3 separate regions of the Homo sapiens genome follow, and all the other regions are linked to region 1. The links are contacts of gene promoters, found by promoter capture Hi-C in blood cells and fetal thymus (Javierre and others, 2016). All regions are on one chromosome and are shown on one strand. The core of a region is centred on a gene start or on the middle of the fragment in contact, and the rest is flanking DNA. Distances in the headings are between cores, read along the strand shown. Region 1 holds the start of ADCY4 (adenylate cyclase 4). Region 2 has its middle 51 kb from the start of GZMB. Region 3 overlaps DHRS4-AS1 (DHRS4 antisense RNA 1).

What was found. Contacts are between HindIII fragments. The CHiCAGO score rates a contact against its expected background, and 5 or more counts as called.
Region 2: a contact is called between a fragment that was not itself captured here and the fragment with the promoter of ADCY4 in region 1, in 1 of 17 cell types (fetal thymus). The highest score is 5.0, in fetal thymus.
Region 3: a contact is called between a fragment that was not itself captured here and the fragment with the promoter of ADCY4 in region 1, in 1 of 17 cell types (activated CD4 T cells). The highest score is 5.0, in activated CD4 T cells.

The regions. Positions count from the first base shown.
Region 1 is chr14:24,333,666-24,336,501 of GRCh38, forward strand. It overlaps ADCY4 (adenylate cyclase 4), which reads right to left and starts at 1,406. Exons shown (of 25, transcript NM_001198568.2): 1 at 829-1,406. The coding sequence starts at 987. It overlaps RIPK3 (receptor interacting serine/threonine kinase 3), which reads right to left. Exons shown (of 10, transcript NM_006871.4): 10 at 2,360-2,730. The coding sequence ends at 2,510. RefSeq lists silencers at 43-142, 803-962, 1,033-1,112. The HindIII fragment of the contact is 4,552 bases long and covers 1-2,494 here.
Region 2 is chr14:24,683,340-24,686,079 of GRCh38, forward strand. No RefSeq gene overlaps it. Among named protein-coding and RNA genes, the nearest start is that of GZMB, 51 kb to the left of the region's middle. The HindIII fragment of the contact is 2,273 bases long and covers 249-2,521 here.
Region 3 is chr14:23,947,350-23,950,274 of GRCh38, forward strand. All of the region lies in intron 1 of DHRS4-AS1 (DHRS4 antisense RNA 1), which reads right to left. Among named protein-coding and RNA genes, the nearest start is that of DHRS4, 5.0 kb to the right of the region's middle. The HindIII fragment of the contact is 7,541 bases long and covers 1-2,925 here.

The sequences.
Region 1 (2,836 bases), core at 156-2,655:
CCAAGCTCACAAGGAGGCACTTCGGAATGAATGTCTCCAAATCTGGCCAATTTGCTCGGGAGATTCCCGGAGCCGGGGACCGCGGCCGGCAGCTTGAAGGGCGGCGCGAGGCAGCGCTCGAGCAGCAGGGGGCGCCAGGACCCGCGGCGTCCCGCACCTCCCTGGCCACCAGGGCTGCGATCTCGCCACCTGCCTCAACTCCAAGCAGAAGCTGCACAGCCGTCCCAGCATTTTGTCCCCACCTCTTCCCGGATTTAGGCGTGGACCAGCAAGGATTGGCCGCGCCCGGTGATTTTCCCACCTTGCCTCCAAGCAGTGAAAAGAAAACCAGGGGCAGGCCATTTCTAGAATTGGATTGAAGACCTTCTTCCTCCCCAAACAGAAACTGGACATGGGTTTACTTTGGGACTCAGTGAGAGCCCGGTGGAGGGTGCCTTCTGGGAGTCTGTGGGTACAACTGCTCTACATCCCCTAAGAGGGAGAGAAAGGCAGGAAATGAATTCCCCAGGGGCCTCCTAGAATTTCCCCTTTGGAAAACTGGAAAATCCGGTGATGGATTTATTGTAGAACCCGTAGACCACGGATGTTCATAAAGTCTGTCAGAACCCGGACAGAAACGAGAAGCATCCAGGACTCAGCTTTCTCCCTGAGCAGACCCAGAAGGGTAGAGTGACTTGCCCAGGGTCACTGCAGTTCCTAGCCAGGCTCAATGGTCCTTTCTTTCTCTGCTCCCAGCAACGAAAACACATCGAAAAGAAGACCCCACAAACCCCAACCCCGAAAATGCTCCCCAGGTAGAGACCCTCCCGCAGCAGAGGCTCGGCTCACCCTGCCGCTGGCCCAGGCCACTGCGAGCAGCGCCGCGAGCGCACAGAGCACGATCCCCAGCAGCAGCAGCAGCAGCGGGTACTGCTGGCTCAGGCTGTAGTAGGTCTCGTAGAAGAGGTCTTCGCTGGGGGGCGGCCGGGGGCTGAAGAGGCGGGCCATGATCTCCCCAGCCCCGAGCCCCGGGGCTGGCTAGGGCCGGGCGCCGGGTTACCTCCTTCGGCCCGGCGGGCCCCACCTGAGCTTTTCTCACCCGCTCAAAGCCGCTACCACCCCGCGCCCCCAACCTCGTGGCAATCCCGTCTCCTTTTTCAGGCCCTCCCTGCGGCCTCCCAGCCCGCTCCCAGCTGGCGATGAGGGGATCCCTCAGTCCTTTCCTCCTCCTCCCTCAAACCCGGATTGTAGAGGTGCCCTAGAAAAGCCTCATCGCCAGGAGGGCAGGATTTGGGGTTGGTGCGAGGGAGCCCCGGGTTCCCCTGATCCCCGAACTCACTGCCCGCGGCGCTGGCGCAGCGGAGTGGGCTAGGTCCGGGGAGGGAGCCGGGGACCTGATGGCGGAGTCACGCTCGCCGCTGCGCTCTGGCTCAGAGTCCCGGGCGACAGGCGCTTCCCTCCCGGCGCCGCGGCCCCCTCCCACTTCCCCGACGGGACAGCCCGGCCCCTTCCTGTGCCAAAGCCGGACTCCCCTGGTCTCCTCCCGCACTTGGTTTTGTCTCTCCTAACACCATCGCCTCCCCGCTTCAGCCCCTTCAGGGAAGGGCAATGTGGACCCTGGGAGAGATGCGAAGGGGTGGGCTGGGGTGGACCCAATGGGATGTGTCCAAATGGAGGTGAACGTTTGGTAGTGGGGAGACCGAGGGCGGGGGGCTGAAGCCTGGCGAGAATGTAGGGAAGAATGTGGGTCCTGGTGGGGATCTAGGTCAGAGTTGGGGGCGCTCATTCTCTTGACCTCTCCGCTTGGCTGGCAACCACTACCACCGGGTTTGAACTGTTCATGCTCCGTGGGAGGGGTTGCGCCTGTGTATAGCTTTAGGAGCCATAGCTTTCCACTCCCGAACAGCAACTGGGAATCAAAAGGGAAGCAATGTCCAGGAAGCAACCTGAGTGTGTGGTGGAGGCAGGTATGTGGCGTCATGATCTCTAAGAGCCTGGGGGCACCGTGCGGGGCCAGGTCTGTGATCTTTCACATCAACTCATCCCTCGCCAGAGCCCTGCAAGTGAGTCTTGAGAGCCCGGAAGAAAAGGGACCACAGCCTCTATCCCCAGAGTTTAGGGTTAGGGTGGGGTCGCCATCCTAGGCTTTAGAGGAAGCACTGCCCTGAGATTAGAGAGTGGTCTGGGGAACCAGGCCTCTAGGATTCCTTCCTGTTGTAGCCGGCTGTGCCCTGACCTTGTGTGCCAGGCCATTGCCCACTCCCAGCCCCCAGCATCCCCACTTCCTGCCATAGCAGAGCTGTGGTGCCTCCCTATCCCTCACTGGCAGCTCCCACCCCCATCCCAGTCCCTCCCTGCCCCTGGCTGAGCTCAGACTGACTAGCATTCCATCATGTTTATTGACTCCTGGGGGACAGGTCACAAAGTCAGTTTGTGGGCAGGCCAGACTGCCCTAGAAGGAAGTCAGGGGCCTCAAGGGGTGGCACTCTTCCTTAACTCGTAACTCTTGGAGGCAAGCTTGGAAGGTGCTTTATTTCCCGCTATGATTATACCAACCCTGTGGCCTGCTCCAGGCTTCAGGATCTTTAGGGCCTTCTTGCGAACCTACTGGTGGGGGGTGCTGCAAGCCCCTCCCCTTGCCCGAAGGTGCCAAGCCCCATGTGGGCAAGGCAGTTGTCTGTTGCATAGTCAAGTAGTTGTTGTCTCCAACTTGCACCCCAGAGCAGTTGTATATGTTAACGAGCGGTCGCCCTTTAAGAGAAATAGTGATGGTGGCAGGAGGGTTTAGCTGTCAGAAAGGCCAAGTTGGGGGTGGGTGGGGAGTATGAAGTCTCTACTTGTCAGTGGCTGTGTCAAG
Region 2 (2,740 bases), core at 135-2,634, 350 kb after region 1:
ACACAGATGACTCCTGTGTTAACTAACTACTGTCACAGTAGCAGGTAGCCCCAATATCTCACTGCCTTACAAAAACGATTTATTTCTTGACCATTTACGCTAAGGCTGTGGGTCAGCTGTGGCTCTGCTTAGCTTTGCTAAACTCAGTGTGACTTATCCTAGATTGAAGAGCCCTTTTCTGGAATACGTTGTCTTATTGTGGAAAATAGAGCAAGAGAGTGCAACACAAACCATGAAATCATATTTAAAGCTTTTTCTCAGATATGTACATGTCCTCACATCTTATTAACTGAATTATTTCATGTATCCAAATATGTGAAGTGGAGACACATTGTCTCTCCGAAGAGGGAAGACAACTCACATGACAGAAAGTGAGTGAGGATAAATCATCCTATTAGACTATGGGAACAAATAATTGGGAATAATAATCTATCATGATCCAACATTGATCACATATATTTTCTTCCCTCAGAATACATCATATTCTTGCCCATAAAAACTTAGCCTAAGGGCTGGCTGACACCTGTGATTCCAGCACTTTGGGAGGTTGAGGCAGGAGGATCACTTGAGCCCAGGAGGTTGAGGTTGCTGTGAGCTGTGATCACACCACTGCACTCCAGCCTGTGTGACAGAAAAAGACCCCATCTCTAAAGTCATTTAAAAGCAAATTAGCCTAAGGGCCAACTTTGCTTTTCAAATAGTCACAGACTGGCAGCACTTTTGACAACCTAACTCTCTCAAACACTTTGTTGTATTGTTTTAATCTATTTGGTACTGGTTGGATCCATGTTCCAATAGACACAACCATTACTCATTTCAAGAAAGACTTTCTCTAGACTTGATTATGGGTATGTGGGTATATCATGCTTTCATAGGAACGTACTCTTGATCTCTTTTCCCTGAGCCGTTTTGTCCAGTGGTGGAAAAAAAAATGTCTGCAAGTCACCTTAATCCAACCAGAAATCTTAACATAGGCCTGATGATGACACCTTTGGTTCTGTCTTTGCCCTGAGATGGAGTATTAAAAGGCCTTTCTATTTCAAGGAATACTTAAATTTTATATTTTATAGGTGGGAGGTGAGAAGGATTTTATTGTCCAAACTTGAAGGCCCAGAATTTCTTTGCTGCCTATTTTCCATCTCATTCATTGAAATAGGTGAATTCTTTCTGAGCTCACCTCTTATTCATATTACCATCATGCTCTCTTTCAATTTTTCAATCCTTCTATATTTGTCCATATGCAGCAAGTCCATTAGGAACATTATCTGCCTTCCAAGTTTAGAAGACACAATTTGACCAAACTTTTCACGACTGCATATCATGAATCTTACTTGTCCAACCTCCTGGAAGAATTCCCTTGCTACCTAGCCCTAAAGTTAATGCCTCATATTTTATATTTTTAGATATGGTAGCACTTCTGTTACCAATTTTTTTATTAGTTGGCCTTTACTGAGGTTGCAAATAACTCCAACATATCAGTATTTAACAACAATAAACATTTATTGATTTCTTGTTCATGTTACATGAGGGCTGAGGGATTATCTGTGACTCAGCTCAGCTTGACTGTGTTCAAGTCCATGCGTCTTTTTATTTCAGGACCCAGAACTGATGTAGCCACCCTTATCTTGGACATATTGTTCTTATAGTGTGGAGAGCAGGAACAATAGAAACAGAGGTAAACCAGATAATCACATCAGAAACTTCTAGTTTGACATAGGAAACTTACATCTGGGTGGCCAGAACATGCTCATAAATTCCATGAGGAAGGAAGGTATAGTCATCCCTGGAAGAAAAAGTCACATGACCAGAAAGAGAGCAAATAGCTGGGGTCAATAATACAATCTTCTAAGACTCCCAGATGTATGTCTTTAGCACTGGCATCTCTTCCTTTTGAGCACCAAACATATATTTAACTGCCTACCCAACATTGCTATTGAGATGTCCAATAAGCATCTCAGATTTAATATGCCTTAAACAAAACTCCTGAGTGCTCTGTTCACCCCAACCTGTTATGCCCTGCCTTCCATACCTCAATAAATACCATCAGTATTCTCCCAGGTAATCAGGAGGAAACCTCCAAGTTTTATTTGATTCGCTTTTCCCTTTCATAGTCAATGCATGAGTAAATTCTGCTGGTTCTACCTTCAATATACATCCCGATTTCTTACCATCGCCAGCACCATCATCCTAATAATCTTCTAACTTGTCTCCCTGCTTCTATTCTTGCCTCCCTAGAATAAATTCCTCATACAGAAGACAGAGAGATCTTTGAAGCATGCAAACTATATCTTGTTAGTCCCTGCCCCAAACCCTGCAACGTCCTGGTTCCTACACAGACACTGGGTTTCTATTCTACATGGTCAAGTCAATAGTAGGTTCAGAGTGACAGAAAGATCAGTATTAGAAATTTATACACTTGGGTAAATCAAAAGAAATCTACTTCTCTAAAGGACAGTAAAAGCCCCTGTAGACTACACATCAAATGTATCAGCAACATTTTTCTGGACAAGTGGTGATTGTAAGCTTTTGGATCTCGAAATGTTTCATTAGCTATGAGTTCATGTCCTTTGTAGGGACATGGATGAAATTGGAAACCATCATTCTCAGCAAACTATTGCAAGGACAAAAAACCAAACACCGCATGTTCTCACTCATAGGTGGGAATTGAACAATGAGAACACATGGACACAGGAAGGGGAACATCACACTCTGGGGACTCTTGTGGGGTGGGGGGAGGGGG
Region 3 (2,925 bases), core at 206-2,705, 390 kb before region 1:
AAAACCACATGATTAATTATTTAGATACAGAAAGGCCTTCGATAAAATTGAACACCCCTTCATGCTAAAAACTCTCAATAAACTAGGTATTGATGGGATGTATCTCTAAATAATAAGAGCTATTTATGACAAAGCCACAGCCAGTATCATACTGCATGGGCAAAAACTGGAAGCATTCCCTTTGAAAAAAGGCACGAGACAAGGATGCCCTCTCACAACTACAACTCCTATTCAACATAGTATTGGAAGTTCTGGCTAGGGCAATCAGGAAAGAGAAAGAAATAAAAGGTATTCAAACAGGAAGAGAGGAAGTAAAATTGTCTCTGTTTGCAGATGACATGATTGTATATTTAGAAAACCTTATCGTCTCAGCCCAAAATCTCCTTAAGCTGATAAGCAACTTCAGCAAAGTCTCAGGATACAAAATCAATGTGCAAAAATGACAAGCATTCCTATACGCCAATAACAGACAATAGAGAGCCAAATCATGAGTGAACTCCCATTCACAATTGCTACAAAGAGAATAAAATACCTAGGAATCCAACTTACAAGGGATGTGAAGGACCTCTTCAAGGAGAAATACAGACACTGCTCGAGGAAATAAGTGAGGACACAAACAAATGGAAAAACATTCCATGCCCATGGATAGGAAGAATCAATATCGTGAAAATGGCCATACTGCCCAAAGTAATTTATAGATTCAATGCTATCCCCATCAAGCTACCATTGACTTTCTTCACAGAATTGGAAAAAACTACTTTGAATTTTATATGGAACCAAAAAAGAGCCAATATAATGAAGACAATCCTAAGCAAAAAGAACAAAGCTGGACGCATGATGCTACCTCACTTCAAACTATACGGCAAGGCTACAGTAACCAAAACAGCATGGTACTGGTACCAAAACAGATATCTAGACCAATGGAACAGAACAGAGGCCTCAGAAACAACACCACACATCTACAACCATCTGATCTTTGACAAACCTAACAAAAACAAGCAATAAGGAAAAGATTTCCTATTTAATAAATGGTGTTGGGAAAACTGGCTAGCCATATGCAGAAAACTGAAACTGGACCCCTTCCTTACACCTTATAAAAAAATTAACTCAAGATGGATTAAAGACTTAAACATAAGACCTAAAACCATAAAAACCCTAGAGGAAAACCTAGGACATACCATTCAGGACATAGGCATGAGCAAAGACTTCACGACTAAAATACCCAAAGCAACAGCAAAAAAAGCCAGAATAGACAAATGGGACTTAATTAAACTAAAGAGCTTCTGTACACCAAAAGAAACTATAATTAGAGTGAACAGAGAACCTACAGAATGTGAGAAAATTTTTGCAATCTATCTATCTGACAAAGGGCTAATATCCAGAATGTACAAAAAACTTAAATTTACAAGAAAAAAAAACCATCAAAAAGTGGGCTAAGAATGTGAACAGATACTTCTCAAAAGAAAACATTTATGCAGCCAAGAAACATGAAAAAATGCTCATCATCACTGCTCATTAGAAAAATGCAAATCAAAACCACAATGAGATACCATCTCACACCAGTTAGAATGGCAATCATTAAAATGTCAGGAAACAACAGATGCTGGAGAGGATGTGGAGAAATAGGAACGCTTTTATACTGTTGGTGGGAGTGTAAATTAGTTCAACCATTGTGGAAGACAGTGTGGCCATTCCACAAGGATCTAGAACTACAAATACCATTTGACCCAGCAATCCCATTACAGGGTATATATCCAAAGGATTATAAATCATTCTACTATAAAGACACATGCATATATATGTTTATTGCAGCACTGTTCACAATAGAAAAACCTTGGACCAACCCAAATGCCCATCAATGATAGACTGGAAAAAGAAAATGTGGCACATATACACCATGGAATATTATGCAGCCATAAAAAATGATGAGTTCATGTCCTTTGCAAAGACCTGGATGAAGCTGGAAACCGTCATTCTCAGCAAACTAATGAAAGAACAGAAAACCAAACACTGCACGTTCTCACTCATAAGTGGAAGTTGAACAATGAGAACACATGGACACAGGGAGGGCAATATCACACACCATGGCCTTTTCAGGGGGGTGGGGGGCTAGGGGAGGGATAGCATTAGGAGAAATACTTAATGTAGATGATGGGTTGATGGGTGCAGAAAACCACCATGGCACATGTACACTTGTGTAACAAACCTGCACATTCTGCAAGTGTATCTCAGAACTTAAAGTATAATTATTTAAAAAAAGAAATTAAAAAGTGGGGATTGGAGCATAGAAGAAAGAAAAGAAAAGAAATTTGAAGGACAGTATGTATAGTGTCATTTCAATTGTGGAAAAAATTTTTAAAAGAAAAATGCATGTAAATGTACAGGAAACTTCTGGAAGGATACACAAAGCCAAGAGCTATATGGGAAGAAGGTAAAAGAACCATAGGGAAGAGTTACCTTTTACTTTTCAAATAATTTTCTGTCCCTTTTTAAAATAATGTGTTATTTATATAATTTAATGAGTAGATGTGTTGATTTGAAAAACACACTGATCCTGAAAGTTTAAATTCCAGTTGAGAGAAAATTGATTTCTATGAAAACTATGGATTGCCCAACAATGCCAGAAAACTGAAGTGTAACTATGCAACACACACAGTGGTCAAGGTTGTCATCAGTCACTCTGATTTCACATAGAGAATTTAAAACACCTAATTGGGTGCAGTGGCTCACGCCTGCTATCCCAGCACTTTTGGAGGCCAAGGCAGGAAGATCACTAGGTCAAGGGATCGAGATCATCCTGGCCAACATGGTGACACCCCGTCTCTACTAAAAATACAAAAATTAGCTGGGTGAGGTGGTATGCACCTGTGGTCCCAGCTACTTGGGAGGCTGAGGCAGGAGAATCACTTGAACCCAGGAGGCAGA